3 separate regions of the Homo sapiens genome follow, and all the other regions are linked to region 3. The links are contacts of gene promoters, found by promoter capture Hi-C in blood cells and fetal thymus (Javierre and others, 2016). All regions are on one chromosome and are shown on one strand. The core of a region is centred on a gene start or on the middle of the fragment in contact, and the rest is flanking DNA. Distances in the headings are between cores, read along the strand shown.

Region 1 (4,246 bases), core at 1,296-3,795, 550 kb after region 3:
TAAGCTTGACTTTTAATCTGGCCAGAAAAAAAAAGAAGTTGGAGGCAGGGTGGGTGGGATGTGAAGTTCCCAGCCCAACAGATCCTCCTGTTGTCACGGGCTCTGTGCGTTCCCAGCTGGTGAGAACCCTGTCTGTCCTGGGGGTGGGAGGGATGTCCTGGGTCTTTCAAGTTGCAGTGTGGGGAGTGAGGCTCTTTCTAAGGGTCTCTGAGGTCTCCCACAACACCTTGCTTGGACTAGCAAAACCTTTCTTTGCATTTCCTCTGGGGCACTGTGTATGTGTATCCCTGTGTAGGGTGGTGTTCTAAACCACCGCAGAAGGTGAGCAATTCTCCTCCCAGCGAGCCAAAGGCTATATGTTTGGGGTGGAGGAGGCTTCATCCCTTCTGGACTGGAGAAATGGGGACTTGGAGCCAAGTGCGCCAGACTTTAGGGAAAGAGAGGAGCTCCAGCTCCAAAAGGGATTTGGAGGGAAGATCCTATCAGGAAAGGCCCCCCAGACTTGCTTCCTCAAAGGGTTAGGGAAGTGCACTGAGAAAAGAGAACTTTCACTTAACTCTTCTCCATTAGGCATCTTTGTGCTTCCATTTGTACTGGAAAGCACAGTCCTGGGCAGTCAGTTGCACATTCCGCCTCTGGTATGTGGACTATGTGAAATATACCATGCAATGTTCTACTTTGCGAGGGGGGAGGCATATAGATGAAAATATGAATTTCCCTTCTACTGCCTTTATTATTGAGCACAGTTGGGAGCACATAATTTCACATCTCTTTCGCATGTCTGTATAAATCCTCAATCTTTAAACGGTGCTTGACTACTCCGAGAGGCACAGTTGCTGTCATATAAGATTCCTAGCCGACTCCGGCGAGTTACTAATTCCTCTCAGACTCCACAATACCCACGATGCACGATGCACACCCCTTTATGCTTGCTTTTCTTTACATGCCTTTTCAAAGGCGAATAATTTTTGTATTGACCCATGAGTCAGTCCATACAGTTTGAAATCCTTTGGATGCCCTCTGCCCACTCCCATAAACAACAGGTCCCTCCACAAAAATGCACATGCCCCGTTTTTGTGAGTGTGGGTTTCAAATAAGATGGCGTCTCCTGGCATTCCTTAGATTCAGATACACGCTCTCTCAGGCAGGAGGCTGCTCACAGTCCAGAGGGGAAGAAAACCTATGAGGCCCCCAAAAGCCAAAGCAAGAGACTCCCCCAAGTATTCTGCCCCCTCCACGCCAGGAGGCAGCTAGAGAGACAGCGCGCGGGAGAGCTGATTCTGCACCTTGGGGAGCTGGGGGCTTCTGTCTAGACCAAGAGTTCCAGGCCAATTCCTAATTTCCGTTAGGAAAAGTGGCCCTTCTTCCATCCCAAGCGATTCCTCACCCCCAAGGCTGCTCAGGGCGTCTGGCCCTTGCCTCTCTCACGGCATCCGCCTGGAATCCGGGGTTGTGAGCAGGAGGCCCAGGACGCAGGGCCTCAGGCTGGGCGGGGCACTGAGCACTCGGCTCTGGGGAGCCAGGGTTTCCGGTAGAACGAGGGGAGGCGACCCCCTTTCCCCACACACACACCTGTTGGAGAGGTAGGGTCGGGTGCCAGCGGACAGGGAGGCCAAGGCGTTTTCGGGTGCGCCCCGAGGCCCTACCCGGGAAGCTGCCTCGGTCTGGAGATCAAGGTTAAGCCGGTGGCCCCGGGAAGCCCACGCCTGCCACGGGCGGTTGGTCCTGAAAGCTCGGGCCACGGGGCTGCCCAGCTTGGAGAGGGGCCTTTCACGCCGCAGTCCCCAGCTGCGAGAGGAAGGGCTGCGCCCGCCTCCTCACCTACCTCTCGGAACCACGCCGTCCCCCGCGCGTCTTCGTAGACTGCAGGAGTCCAGGGCGTCTGGGGACTGTGACGGCGCCCAAGGCGGGGGATGTGGCGGCTCTGGGTCGCCGCCTTCTGCCCCCGCCTCTGTGAGGCCTCTCGAGGCAGTGTCTGTGTCTGGGGCAGCGACGCCGACGGCGCTGGGGGCGCGAAGGGGCTCACGCTCCTGCGTTCCCCTGGCGCCGGTGAGTGGCGGGCGAGGACAGGGTCCGGGAGGGGGATAGGCGAGAGCGCTTCCTGCCTCCGCCCGGGCGGGGCTCGGCCGTCTCACCTGCCCCCACCCACGGCGCCGTCGGATCCCAGAGCGGCTGGTGAGGAGATGGGCCTGGCGCGCCGCGGGGAGGCCAGAGGCGCGGAGGAGCAGCGCCCAGATGGCCGGAGAGAGCAGAGAGAGAGAGAAGAGAGAGAGAAGAGAGAGAGAGAGAGAAGAGAGAGAGAGGGAGAGAGGCAGAGAGGGAGAGAGGGAGGGAGAGAGGGAGGGAGGGAGGGAGGGAGAGAGAGAGAGAGAGAGAGAGAGAGAGAGAGAATATGAGAATATGAGAATATAAAAGGCAAGAGAGAAGCAGATCCAAGGGCGCGCCCAGAGAAACATCAAATGCACAAATAGACAAAAGAGGTAGAGGAGAAAGCTGAGTCCCAGGGGCTGAAAGAAGCCATGGGCGTCTGAAGCGAGCGACAAGTTATCCTTGGGAGTTGGAAATGTGAGAGGGAGGGGCGAGGCCGAAGGAGGCTGAGAAGGGGAGGGGGCGCTCACACCCTGGGCGGGAGGCGACTGATCCACACTTAGGGCTCCGAATCCGGAGAAAGAGAGCGCCGGACCCTCCTCCGCCCACCTCCCGCCCCAGCCGCAGCCCAGCGACTTCCCGCCATCCTCGGCCACCGAGCGGCTCCTGCCTGGGGTTGTTCGACCGGGATGGCTGCACCAGGCTGAAGGTTGTCCCTCTACCTGCCTCCTTTCTTCTGTTCCCTGTGCCTTACATGGGTTCCTCCCTATTCTATGAACCCAGAGGGAACGACCTTGGCCAAGGTTAGAGAAGGAGCTTGAAAGTTTCACTTTCCATCTTAGCCCTCAGGACGCCTTTGCGTTTTGGCCCTTCGTTAGCGTGCTATCCTGGAATTGCAGGCTCTTCTCTTTATTTCTGAGACCCAAATAGAGGTTTAACCTCCTTAAAATCAGTGAAACTACGACAAACAGTGGCATTCCTGGCTGTCTGGTCTCTAAGGAGTGCCCCCCCTCCCTGACCTCAGCCCTGAGACCCTGCTTCCTCCTCAACCTGCATGGGACTGGGGACACCCCCTCACAATCCAGTCCCTTCCTGCAGGTGGTTGTCCAGGGGGCATGTAGAGGTGTGCCTGAGCTCTGTGTCCTAAGCCTGGCTCTGCCACTGACTTCAGCCCCCACCCCTTCTCCTTTTAGGCCTCAGTTTTTCCTCTGTAAAATGGGCAGAGTGATTTTACAAGTGATTTTACCAAGTGAGAACTGTTGAAATATCTTACTATAATTGTGGATTTGTCCATTTCTCCTTTCAATTCTATCATTTTCGGTGCTTCATATATTTTTGAAGCTCTGTTATTAGGTGTGTACATTTAAGGTTGATGTGTCTTCCTAGGTGTGTACCACATTTAGATTTAGGATTGATGTGTCTTCTTTTTTGAGATGAAGTCTTGATCTGTCACCCAGGCTGGAGTGCAATGGTGCAATCTCGGCTCACTGCAACCTCCGCCTCTTGAGTTCAAGCGATTCTCCCACTTCAGCCTCCCGAGTAGCTGGGACCACAGGTGTGTGCCACCACGCCCAGCTAATTTGTGTAGTTTTAGTAGAGACGGGTTTTCACCATGTTGGCCAGGCTGGTCTCGGCTCCTGACGTCAGGTGATCCGCTTGCCTCAGCCTCCCAAAGTGCTGGGATTAGAGGTGTGAGCCACGGCTCCTAGCCATGATATGTCTTCTTATGCTTTGCTTCTGCAGCCTCCTCTCATTTGCAGGTTCTGTTGAGCTTGAACCGCTGAGAGAAAAATGCATCCAAATGGGAATTTTATTCTATATCCACGTAAACATGAATATAGAAATATGACAAAACTAAATTTTGCTTCCAAAATGTTTTTGTTTTGTTTTGTTTTTGTTTTTTTGTTTGTTTGTTTTTTCTGAGACAGAGTTTCGCTCTTGTTGCCCAGGCTGGAGTGCAATGGCACAATCCCAGCTCACCGCAACCTCTGCCTCCCGGGTTCTCCTGCCTCAGCCTCCCTAGTAGCTGGGATTACAGGCATGTGCCACCATGCGCAGCTAATTTTTTGTATTTTTAATAGAGACGGGGTTTCTCCATGTTGGTCAGGCTGGTCTCGAACTCCCGACCTCAGGTGATCCGCCCGCCTCAGCCTCCCAA
Region 2 (4,272 bases), core at 1,595-4,094, 810 kb after region 3:
AGGAGAATGGTGTAAACCTTGGAGGTGGAGCTTGCAGTGAGCCGAGATCGCGCCACTGCACTCCAGCCTGGGCGACAGAGCAAGACTCCAAACCAAAAAAAAAATAAAAATAAATAAATAATAGTACCTACTACTTCACTGAGTGTTGAAAGGAATAAAGCCAAAGTATACAAAATGCCTGCCACATATTAAACACTCAATAAATGTCTGCTAAAAAAATAATTTTTTAGGCCAAGCACGGTGGCTGACGCCTGTAATCCCGAGCACTTTAGGAGGCCAAGGCGGAAGGACTGCTTGAGCCCAGAAGTTCGAGACCAACCTGGGCAACATGGTGAAACCTCGCTTCTACAGAAAAATACAAAAATTAGCCGGGCATCGTGGCACGTGTCTGTAATCCCAGCTACTTGGAGGGCTGAGGCAGAGGTTGCAGTGAGTTGTGATCCCATCACTGCACTCCAGTCTGGGTGACAGAGCAAGACCCTGTCTCAAAACAAATCAATCTTTAGCTCTCCATAAATCTTGGTCATTATCCTTCAGGTCTGCATTCCATTACTGTAAATTCATAAAACTCTAAAAGGCAGGAAGGGTGGGGTGGGTGGATGACTTCTGTAATCCCAGCACTTTGGGAGACCGAGAAGGGCGGATGACTTGATCCAACTCCAAAAGGAGTTGGAGACCTTCCTGGCCAACATGGTGAAACCTCGCCTCTACTAAAAAAATACAAAAAATTAGCCAGGCGTAGAGGCGCCTCTACTAAAAAAATACAAAAAATTAGCCAGGCATAGAGGCATGCTTGTAATCTCAGCTACTGGGGAGGCTGAGGCAGGAGAATTGTTTGAACCCAGGAGGCGGAGATTGCAGTGAGCCACGATTGCGCCATTGCACTCCAGCCTGCGTGACAAGAGCAAGATTCCCTCTTTAAAAACAAAAAACAAAAAACAAAAAAACTCTAAAGCCAGACTCTTTTTTTTGAGACGGAGTCTCACTCTTTTACCCAGGATGGAGTGCAGTGACTCAGTCTCGGCTCACTGCAACTTCTCCTTCCCGGGTTCAAGTGATTCTTCTGTCTCAGCCTCCTGAGTAGTTGGGACTACAGGCGCCTGCCAACACACCCGGCTAATTTTTGTATTTTTAGTAGAGACGGGGTTTCACCATATTGGTCAAGCTGGTCTCGAACTCCTTACCTCAGGTGATCCACCCACCTCGGCCTCCCAAATTGTTGGGATTACAGACGTGAGCCACCGTGCCCGGCCCAGACTTCTTTTTTAAAAAACCAAACTTGGTGGCAAAACATCCAAAGTGAGGCTATTCATTTGACTTGGTACGAATGTTCATACACTTTGATGCAGAAATGTCAATAGGTTTGGCTACCCGGCGCTGCCCCACTCCTTGCTTGGTGTGTCATTCCAAAGTCTGAAATACATCTGGCCCCACTGGTTTCCAGTTAATATTGATCCTATATTTTTGCTAGGGAAAAAAGTTTTTGTTTTTGTTTTGAGACGGAGTCTTGCTCTGTCGCCCAGGCTGGAGTGCAGTGGCACGATCTCCGCCCACTGCAAGCTCCGCCTCCCGGGTTCACGCCATTCTCCTGCCTCAGCCTTCCGAGTAGCTGGGACTACAGGCGCCCGCCACCACGCCCGGCTAATTTTTTGTATTTTTAGTAGAGACGGGGTTTCACAGTGTTAGCCAGGATGGTCTTGATCTCCTGACCTAGTGATCCGCCCGCCTCAGCCTCCCAAAGTGCTGGGATTACAGGCATGAGCCACCGCGCCCGGCAAGGAAAAACAGTTTTTTAGGAAGGCCCCTGTCATTCTTAGTCCATAGGAATTTTTTTTTTTTTTTTTGAGACGGAGTCTGGCTCTGTCGCCCAGGCTGGAGTGCAGTGGCGTGATCTCAACTCACTGCAAACTCCGCCTCCCGGGTTCAAGTGATCCACCTGCCTAAGCCTCCTGAGTAGCTGGGACTACAGGTGCACGCCACCACGCCCGGCTAATTTTTGTATTTTTAATAGAGGCGGGGTTTCACCATGTTAGGCTGGTCTCGAACTCCTAACCTCGTGATTCGCCCACCTCGGCCTCCCAAAGTGCTGGGATTACAGGCGTGAGCCACCGAGCCTGGCAGATTATTTTTCACTTTAAACATTTTAGGAAAGACCCAAAGAATCCTCAGGGTTTACACTCACAGTACCTCGATTCCTGTATATTCCAAGATTTGTGGGAAGAAAAAGTACTAAGCTTGGAGTCAGGAGGCCTGATGTTTCTTCCTTTCACCAAGCTTCTCTAGTTCTGTTTCATTATCCCCATGGCAACAACTAGCAACAGTGACTGGCATTTAGTAGGCCCTTCATAAATATATGTTGAATAAACTCTAAAAGAGGTAGCTTTTCATTCCAAGTTGAGTTCTCTCTTGGTCCTGTTGCAGGCAAGGGCAATGGTACCCTGCCCTAGGTGCACAAGTGTGCAGGAGGGATCAATCGCAGAGCCTTTCCGAGAGAAGGGGCCCAAAGCGAGTCAACTTCTCTACTGAGCTTCCCATGAGGATGCTGGATCCCCAATCCTAACCATGCAGACGTCTGAGGGTCGCCGCCATTAACGGGAATGATATGGCCCTTCCTCCCCCACTCCCTCCTCTCTTCTCCCCTTTCAACACTTGAATTGGGCTCTCCGCTACTTCCGCACAGCGCAGGACCCACACGAGCCCAGAACCATCACGGCCTGCTAGTTCCCACCCCTCCCGTCCTGGAGGACCGTAGGTGGACGCTCTTGCAGAGCGCCTCTCGCTGGTTGGGGCGGGGGTGGGCGGAGCCAGCACCGTCTGGGCTGTGGAAGCGGAGGGGGTGGGGACACTCTGGCCCGGTTCTCGGTGGTGCGGGAGCGGGCGGGAGCAGCGGCCGCTCTGGTCGGCGGACGTGCTGCCGAGTAGTCCCGGAAGCGAAGCAGCGATGGCGGAGAGTCCGACTGAGGAGGCGGCAACGGCGGGCGCCGGGGCGGCGGGCCCCGGGGCGAGCAGCGTTGCTGGTGTTGTTGGCGTTAGCGGCAGCGGCGGCGGGTTCGGGCCGCCTTTCCTGCCGGATGTGTGGGCGGCGGCGGCGGCAGCGGGCGGGGCCGGGGGCCCGGGGAGCGGCCTGGCTCCGCTGCCCGGGCTCCCGCCCTCAGCCGCTGCCCACGGGGCCGCGCTGCTTAGCCACTGGGACCCCACGCTCAGCTCCGACTGGGACGGCGAGCGCACCGCGCCGCAGTGTCTACTCCGGATCAAGCGGTGAGCCGGGGTTTTTCCTCCCCCAGCCCCGAGCTCCGGGGCTCGACCTTCCCCGCCCCCCACCCTCTCCCACTACAACTCACCCCCCACCCACTGCGCTGCCCTCGCGGCGGCCCACCTCCACGGCCCAAATCTTGCCAGCTCCGGGCGTCGGGATCCAACTCCCTTCTCCCCCCACCCTCAGACCCGCAAGCACCAACCCCCGCCTCGTGTGCCCAGATCCGACCCCGCCCCTCGACAACCTCCCGTGAGCCCTCCGTCTCCATTCCGGCCACCCTCCCCCACACCTCCCACCTCCGGGTGGAAACCCGACCCTTTAGCGCTTCAGTAACGCCCCCTCCCGCCTTCGGCGCCGCCCCTATTTCCCCTTCCCCACCCCAACCTTGCTAGATGCTGCCCGCAGGCCCCACCCATCGGTCCCCTCTCTTCTCCTCTGGAGCCCCGTTCCTAACACAGACGAACTCAGCTTCCTTTGCCATGCCTCTGACTCGAGCCAACCTTTCTTTTTATCCTCCGTTTTTCTCAGATTCCCTCCACACAGTCTTTTCCCAGGTCTAGATCGCTTCCCTCGCCCCAATCTTTCCTTGAACCCCTTTTCCAGTGTCCCAAAGCTGTCCACTCTTACGCCTCTTCCAGAAACACAGGCTACCTCCCCCCAATTCCCCAGTGCCACTCTGGATTGTAATATCCCACTCAGGAGCTTCTTTCTTGTAATTTCCCTCCCCCCACCCCCCACCCTCCCCGGGTCGTCTGTTTTACTTCTATGAAGCAAATATACTCATCAAATATAGGAACAAAGGCCTAAGTCCTTTCTGTGCTTATTTCTTGGGTGACTGATCTTAGATCCTATCATTTAGTAGATGATGTTTTCCAGAAGCACATAGAATAGTACCTATCGCATAAGAAAAGGGCAGTGCTCTTTAGCTATTAATCCTGAAACCTGTTTGACTTCTCCCCATGCCCCCATCACAAGCATCTTCGTTTAGTTCTTATTCCCCATGTTCCACGTCCTTT
Region 3 (4,781 bases), core at 997-3,496:
AGCTGGGACTACAGGCATGCGCCACTAGGCCCAGCTAATTTTGTATTTTTAGTAGAGACAGGGTTTCACCATGTTGGTTGGCCAGGATGGTCTCGATCTCTTGACCTCATGATCCGCCCACCTCAGACTCCCAAAGTGCTGGGATGACAGGCTTGAGCCACTGCGCCCGACCCTACTATTTATTTTTTTAATGAGAAACAATTTAGGATACAGCAGCCATTGAAGAAAAATATCACCACAGGGAAAACCGTAAACGACTTCAGGTCCTCCACTCCCGTGAAGCTTCATTAAGGTGCCACCGGTTTCAATACAAGTGCTTTTCAATCACACCACTTTCATATAAAAGTCTATAAGGCACCTAGGGAGGAACACCGGCATTAATTTCCCCATTGTATTCCTGAATCTATTCCAAAGCCTTGGACCTTTCACAATCTTTCCAAACTGCTGATGTGACTCTTAACACAATTGAGGAGGCTACTTTACCCTGGGCTAGGGGTTCTAGTATATAACTGATTATAGCTGAACTTTTTGTAAATTCCACCTCAATTGCGTTAAACCAACACGTCTAAATGTAACACCAATTTATGAAAAACCCTCATTTGAAACTTTGAAAAAGAGGTAAAATATGGCCAGGCGCAGTGGCTCACGCCTATAATCCCAGCACTTTGGGAGGCCGACGCGGGAGGATCACGAGGTCAGGAGTTCGAGACCAGCGTGACCAGTACGGTGAAACCCCGTCTCTACTAAAAATACAAAAATTAGCCGGGCGTGGTGGCGTGTGCCTGTAATCCCAGCTAGTCGGGAGGCTGAGGCAAGAGAATCGCATGAATCCGGGAGGTGGAGGTTGCAGTGAGCCAAGATCGCACCACTGCACTCCAGCCTGGGCAACAGAGGAAGACTCTTCTCAAAAAAAAAAAAAAAAAGAGGTAAAATATAGCTCACTCTATTCAAATTTTCCAACAAGGAAAAGCTGGCTAAAAACAGAAGGGCCCACGAAACAAATATTACCTCACAATCTCACATAATTTTCCTATGTCTCCCAATTTCTCGCACCTCACACGATCTCACAATCTCTCACTACCTCACGCCGTTCCTCAACTATTAACTCATCTACATATTTTTACAATTTCATCACCTTTGTGAGACCAGTTACGATCCCACACAAAAACGTACGGAACTAATTTTGAATCAAAGCAAGAACTGCACTTGGACTTTTTTAACTCCCCAAAGGAATCATGGAGTGAAGGTAGTAGGAAACCTGGAAAACTGAAAAAAGCGTATTCCATCCTTTCTTCGCACATTATTCTTACAGCCTCCCCACTGTAAGGACCCATCAGGATGCAAGGGCGGCCTGCTTTCCCCTTTTTTCTTACATACCTTATAGAAATATTCTCGGGATCTCCGCCCTACTTATCCTAACAGCTCCTCCCCTTCCAGAGTCAGGCCCAGCAAACGCCTGCCCCTCCCCCTCCGTGTCCCCTTTCCCAATTTATTCCACACATCTCCTCCTCCAATCAGCACACCTTGTGCGGCCCTGGGCCCTCTTCCAATTCACTCGACGTTACTCCTCCGTAGTCCTGCAAAGCCAGGTTCCTCTGGCAGTCCCAGCCGGACCCGGCGTCTTCCGAATACAGTTACAAACCTCGGGTTGTGCGGTCGTATGCGCCTCCTCACGCCTATCCAAGCCTCAAGCCTGTCCCCTTCCGCCCTATCCCGCAGCCGCCCAGCCAAGCAACATTGTTCCAGACCACCCGGGCCCCGAAGAGCGGCCCCCAAGTGCTCGGCCCACCCCCAAGCACTCAGTCTCTGGCTCAGGATTCGCGCCCCGCCCTCTCCATCCTTCACGCAGCTGGCACCGACGCCTCAGCGACAGGCGAAGAGCTCAGCGCGGGAAGCGGAGAAGCAGGACGCTGGACCCGGGCGCGCTCCCCGCTCCTAACCTCCGCCTCGAAAGCGCGTTCCCTCACGCAGGGCTCCCGCCGCCGCCGCCGCCGCGCCCCCTCCCCCAGCTCTCCCGCCTCCAGCGGGCTCCTCACCTCAGAGCAGCGCCCAAGAGCCCGAGAGGAATCGGTGCTGCGCTGCTGGCGCGTCGCGTCGGGTCGCCTGGGGGAGTGGCGCCCAGGAAGGCAGCAAGCCGGGTGGCCGCAGTGGCGTCCCTCACTGAAGCGGCGTACCGCAGGCCCCGGCCAACGGCCCTCCCCTCAGCCGAACAAAAGAGCCTCGCAGTCTGCGCTGCCCGCCGCTCGCACCGCGCAGGCGCAACGACCCGCCGCACGGCACCATGGGCCTCGGGGGTCTGTCCAAGACTACAAGGCCCGAAGCGCCGCGCGCCGCGCACGCACAGTAGGCGAGGGTGGTAGGGACTTATAGTTTTTAAACTGTAACGGTGGAGAGATTGCAGCGTAGAGCGTTGTAACCTAGAATATTAGAACATATGGGCCAGGGGCAGTCGCTCACGCCTGTCATCCCAGCACTTTGGGAGGCCGAGGCGGGTGGATCACCTGAGGTCAGGGGTTCGAGACCAGTCTTACCAACAAGGTGAAACCCTGTCTCTACTAAAAATGCAAAAATTAGCCGAGCGTGGTGGCAGGTGCCTGTAGTCCCAGCTACTCAGGAGGCTGAGACAAGAATTGCTTGAACTTGGGAGGCGGAGCTTGCAGTGAGCCGAGATCCAGCCACTGCGATCCAGCCTGGGCGATGGAGCGAGACTCCATCTCAAAAAAAAAAAAAAAAAAAAATTAGAACATATGATTTTTATAAGCGAGCCCCCTGATGCTTGGCCCCCAAAAAATCAACCACTTCTGGACAGTTCTGTAATTCACATCCTCAAAATTTTTGAATCTTAGATTCTTCACCAGAACTTTATCATATCGCCGCTGCCTCAAATTTCCAATGATTTCTTAGTCCTCAATCTCTGCCTCCTCAAATCTCTGTAAAATTCCTACTCACGCCGGCACGGTGGCTCAAGCCTATAATCCCAACACTTGGGGAGGCGGAGGTGGGTGGATCACTTGAGGTCAGGGTTTCAAGACCAGCCTGGCCAACATGGTGAAACCCCATCTCTACTAAAATACAAAAATTAGCTGGGCGTCGTGGCGGGCGCCTGTAGTGCCAGCTACTCGGGAGGCTGAGGGAGGAGAATCGCTTGAACCCAGGAGGTGGAGGTTACAGTGAGCCGAGATCGCGCCATTGCACTCCAGCCTGGGCAACAAGAGCGAAACTTCGTCTAAAAAAAAAAATACTGTTCAGTGTTAAGATTACTTCCCCTTTGAGGTCTTCCCTGATTCCCTAGAGTAGGTTAGGTCCCCCCATAGGCCTCTCATAGCTTCCTGAATTTCCCCCTTTTCACTGGCTGCGCCACAAAAATGTCCTCTTTTTCATTGTAAGTTGTGCTCACCTTTTTCAGTGTCATTAATCTCCGTCAGCACCTTTCACCCAATCATCCCAAGGAAACACACAATTAGGAAAAAAACATGTTTTTAAGCCACAATATAACTAAAGTTTTATTTTTTTATTTTAAAGTATCCTTCTAATCAGGAGGAAGAGGGAAACTCTATTGCACTCTACCCCAAAAGGCAAGAGTTTGCATTTATAAGACAGTTTTGCTGATGCAGGCACTGTTCAGGGCAGGAGTTTGCATTTATAAGACAGTTTTGCTGATGCAGGCACTGTTCACGGCTCTGGAGAACTGTCATGTAAGAAAAACCCAGCCCAGCAATATCATAATAGAGTTTAGTTAAAAGGGCTTCAAGAAAGCACAGAGAAGATGAGAGGTGAAGCCAGCTGGACTTCCTGGGTCGAGTGGGGACTTGGAGAACTTTTCTGTCTTACAAGAGGATTGTGAAATGCACCAATCAGCGCTCTATACCTAGCAAGGGGATTGTAAAATATACCAATCAGCACTCTGTAAAAACACACCAATCAGCCCTCTGTAGCTAGCAAGAGGATTGTAAAATGCACCAATCAGCACTCTGCAAAATGCACCAATCAGCGCTCTGTAAAATGCAGGAATCTAAAAGTAGCCAATCACAGGGAGGATTGAAAAAAGGGCACTCTGATAGGACAGAAATAGCAAATGGGCAGGGACAAACAAGGGTGTAAAAGCTGGCCCCCTGCCCCCCACCCATTCCTGTTAGCCCGCAGCAGCAACCTGCTCAGGTCGGTTTCCACGCTATGGAAGCCTTGTTCTTTCGCGTTCTTTCGCTCTTCACAACAAATCTTGCTGCTGCTCACTCTTTGGGTCCCTGCCAGCTTTAAGAGCTGTTTTTAACACCATGAAGGTCCGCGGCTTCATTGTTTAAGTCAGGGAGACCACAAACCCACCGGAAGGAATCAACTCCGGACACAAAGAGAGCAATTCTTCCTGAAACATTTGGGCTGGGTTTCTAGGAAGAAGCAAGTGAGAAGCAAGCATCTCCTCACTTCCTCCTGTAGTGTACTGTTTTTGACTGATGATGATGAGAAAATTAGTTGTAATGATAATTAGCTACTATTAATGAGTGCTTTTTTTGTTTTTTTTCCCTGAGGTGGAGTCTTGCACTGTCGCCCAGGCTGGAGTGCAATGGCAAGATCACGGCTCACTGCAACCTCCGCCTCCCGGGTTCATGCACTTCTCCTGCCTCAGCCTCCCAAGTAACTGGGATTACAAGTGCATGCCACCATGCACAGCTAATTTTTTTGTATTTTAGTAGAGACGGGGGTTTCACCATGTTGCCCAGGCTGGTCTTGAACTCCTGAGTTCAGGCATCCACCCGCCCAAAGTGCTAAGATTACAGGCGTGA

Evidence for each region. Contacts are between HindIII fragments. The CHiCAGO score rates a contact against its expected background, and 5 or more counts as called.
Region 1: a fragment that was not itself captured here is called in contact with the fragment with the promoter of CBX1 in region 3 in 2 of 17 cell types (total CD8 T cells and megakaryocytes); the score reaches 5.5 in total CD8 T cells.
Region 2: a contact is called between the fragment with the promoter of UBE2Z here and the fragment with the promoter of CBX1 in region 3, in 1 of 17 cell types (M2 macrophages). The highest score is 5.8, in M2 macrophages.

The regions. Positions count from the first base shown.
Region 1 is chr17:48,644,780-48,649,025 of GRCh38, forward strand. LINC03057 (long intergenic non-protein coding RNA 3057) reads right to left here and starts at 2,073. Exons shown (of 2, transcript NR_186590.1): 1 at 1,826-2,073. It overlaps LINC02086 (long intergenic non-protein coding RNA 2086), which reads left to right. Exons shown (of 8, transcript NR_189645.1): 1 at 1-1,583. RefSeq lists enhancers at 1,610-2,278, 1,717-1,766, 2,657-2,866 and a silencer at 1,987-2,166. The HindIII fragment of the contact is 5,086 bases long and covers 3-4,246 here.
Region 2 is chr17:48,905,563-48,909,834 of GRCh38, forward strand. UBE2Z (ubiquitin conjugating enzyme E2 Z) reads left to right here and starts at 2,845. Exons shown (of 7, transcript NM_023079.5): 1 at 2,845-3,258. The coding sequence starts at 2,942. It overlaps LOC105371814 (a long non-coding RNA gene), which reads right to left and starts at 3,421. Exons shown (of 4, transcript NR_135674.1): 1 at 3,377-3,421. RefSeq lists silencers at 2,984-3,233, 3,504-3,633. The HindIII fragment of the contact is 3,469 bases long and covers 2,273-4,272 here.
Region 3 is chr17:48,099,232-48,104,012 of GRCh38, forward strand. It overlaps CBX1 (chromobox 1), which reads right to left and starts at 2,247. Exons shown (of 5, transcript NM_001127228.2): 1 at 2,037-2,247. RefSeq lists enhancers at 1,980-2,579, 2,406-2,665 and a silencer at 1,986-2,035. The HindIII fragment of the contact is 8,551 bases long and covers 281-4,781 here.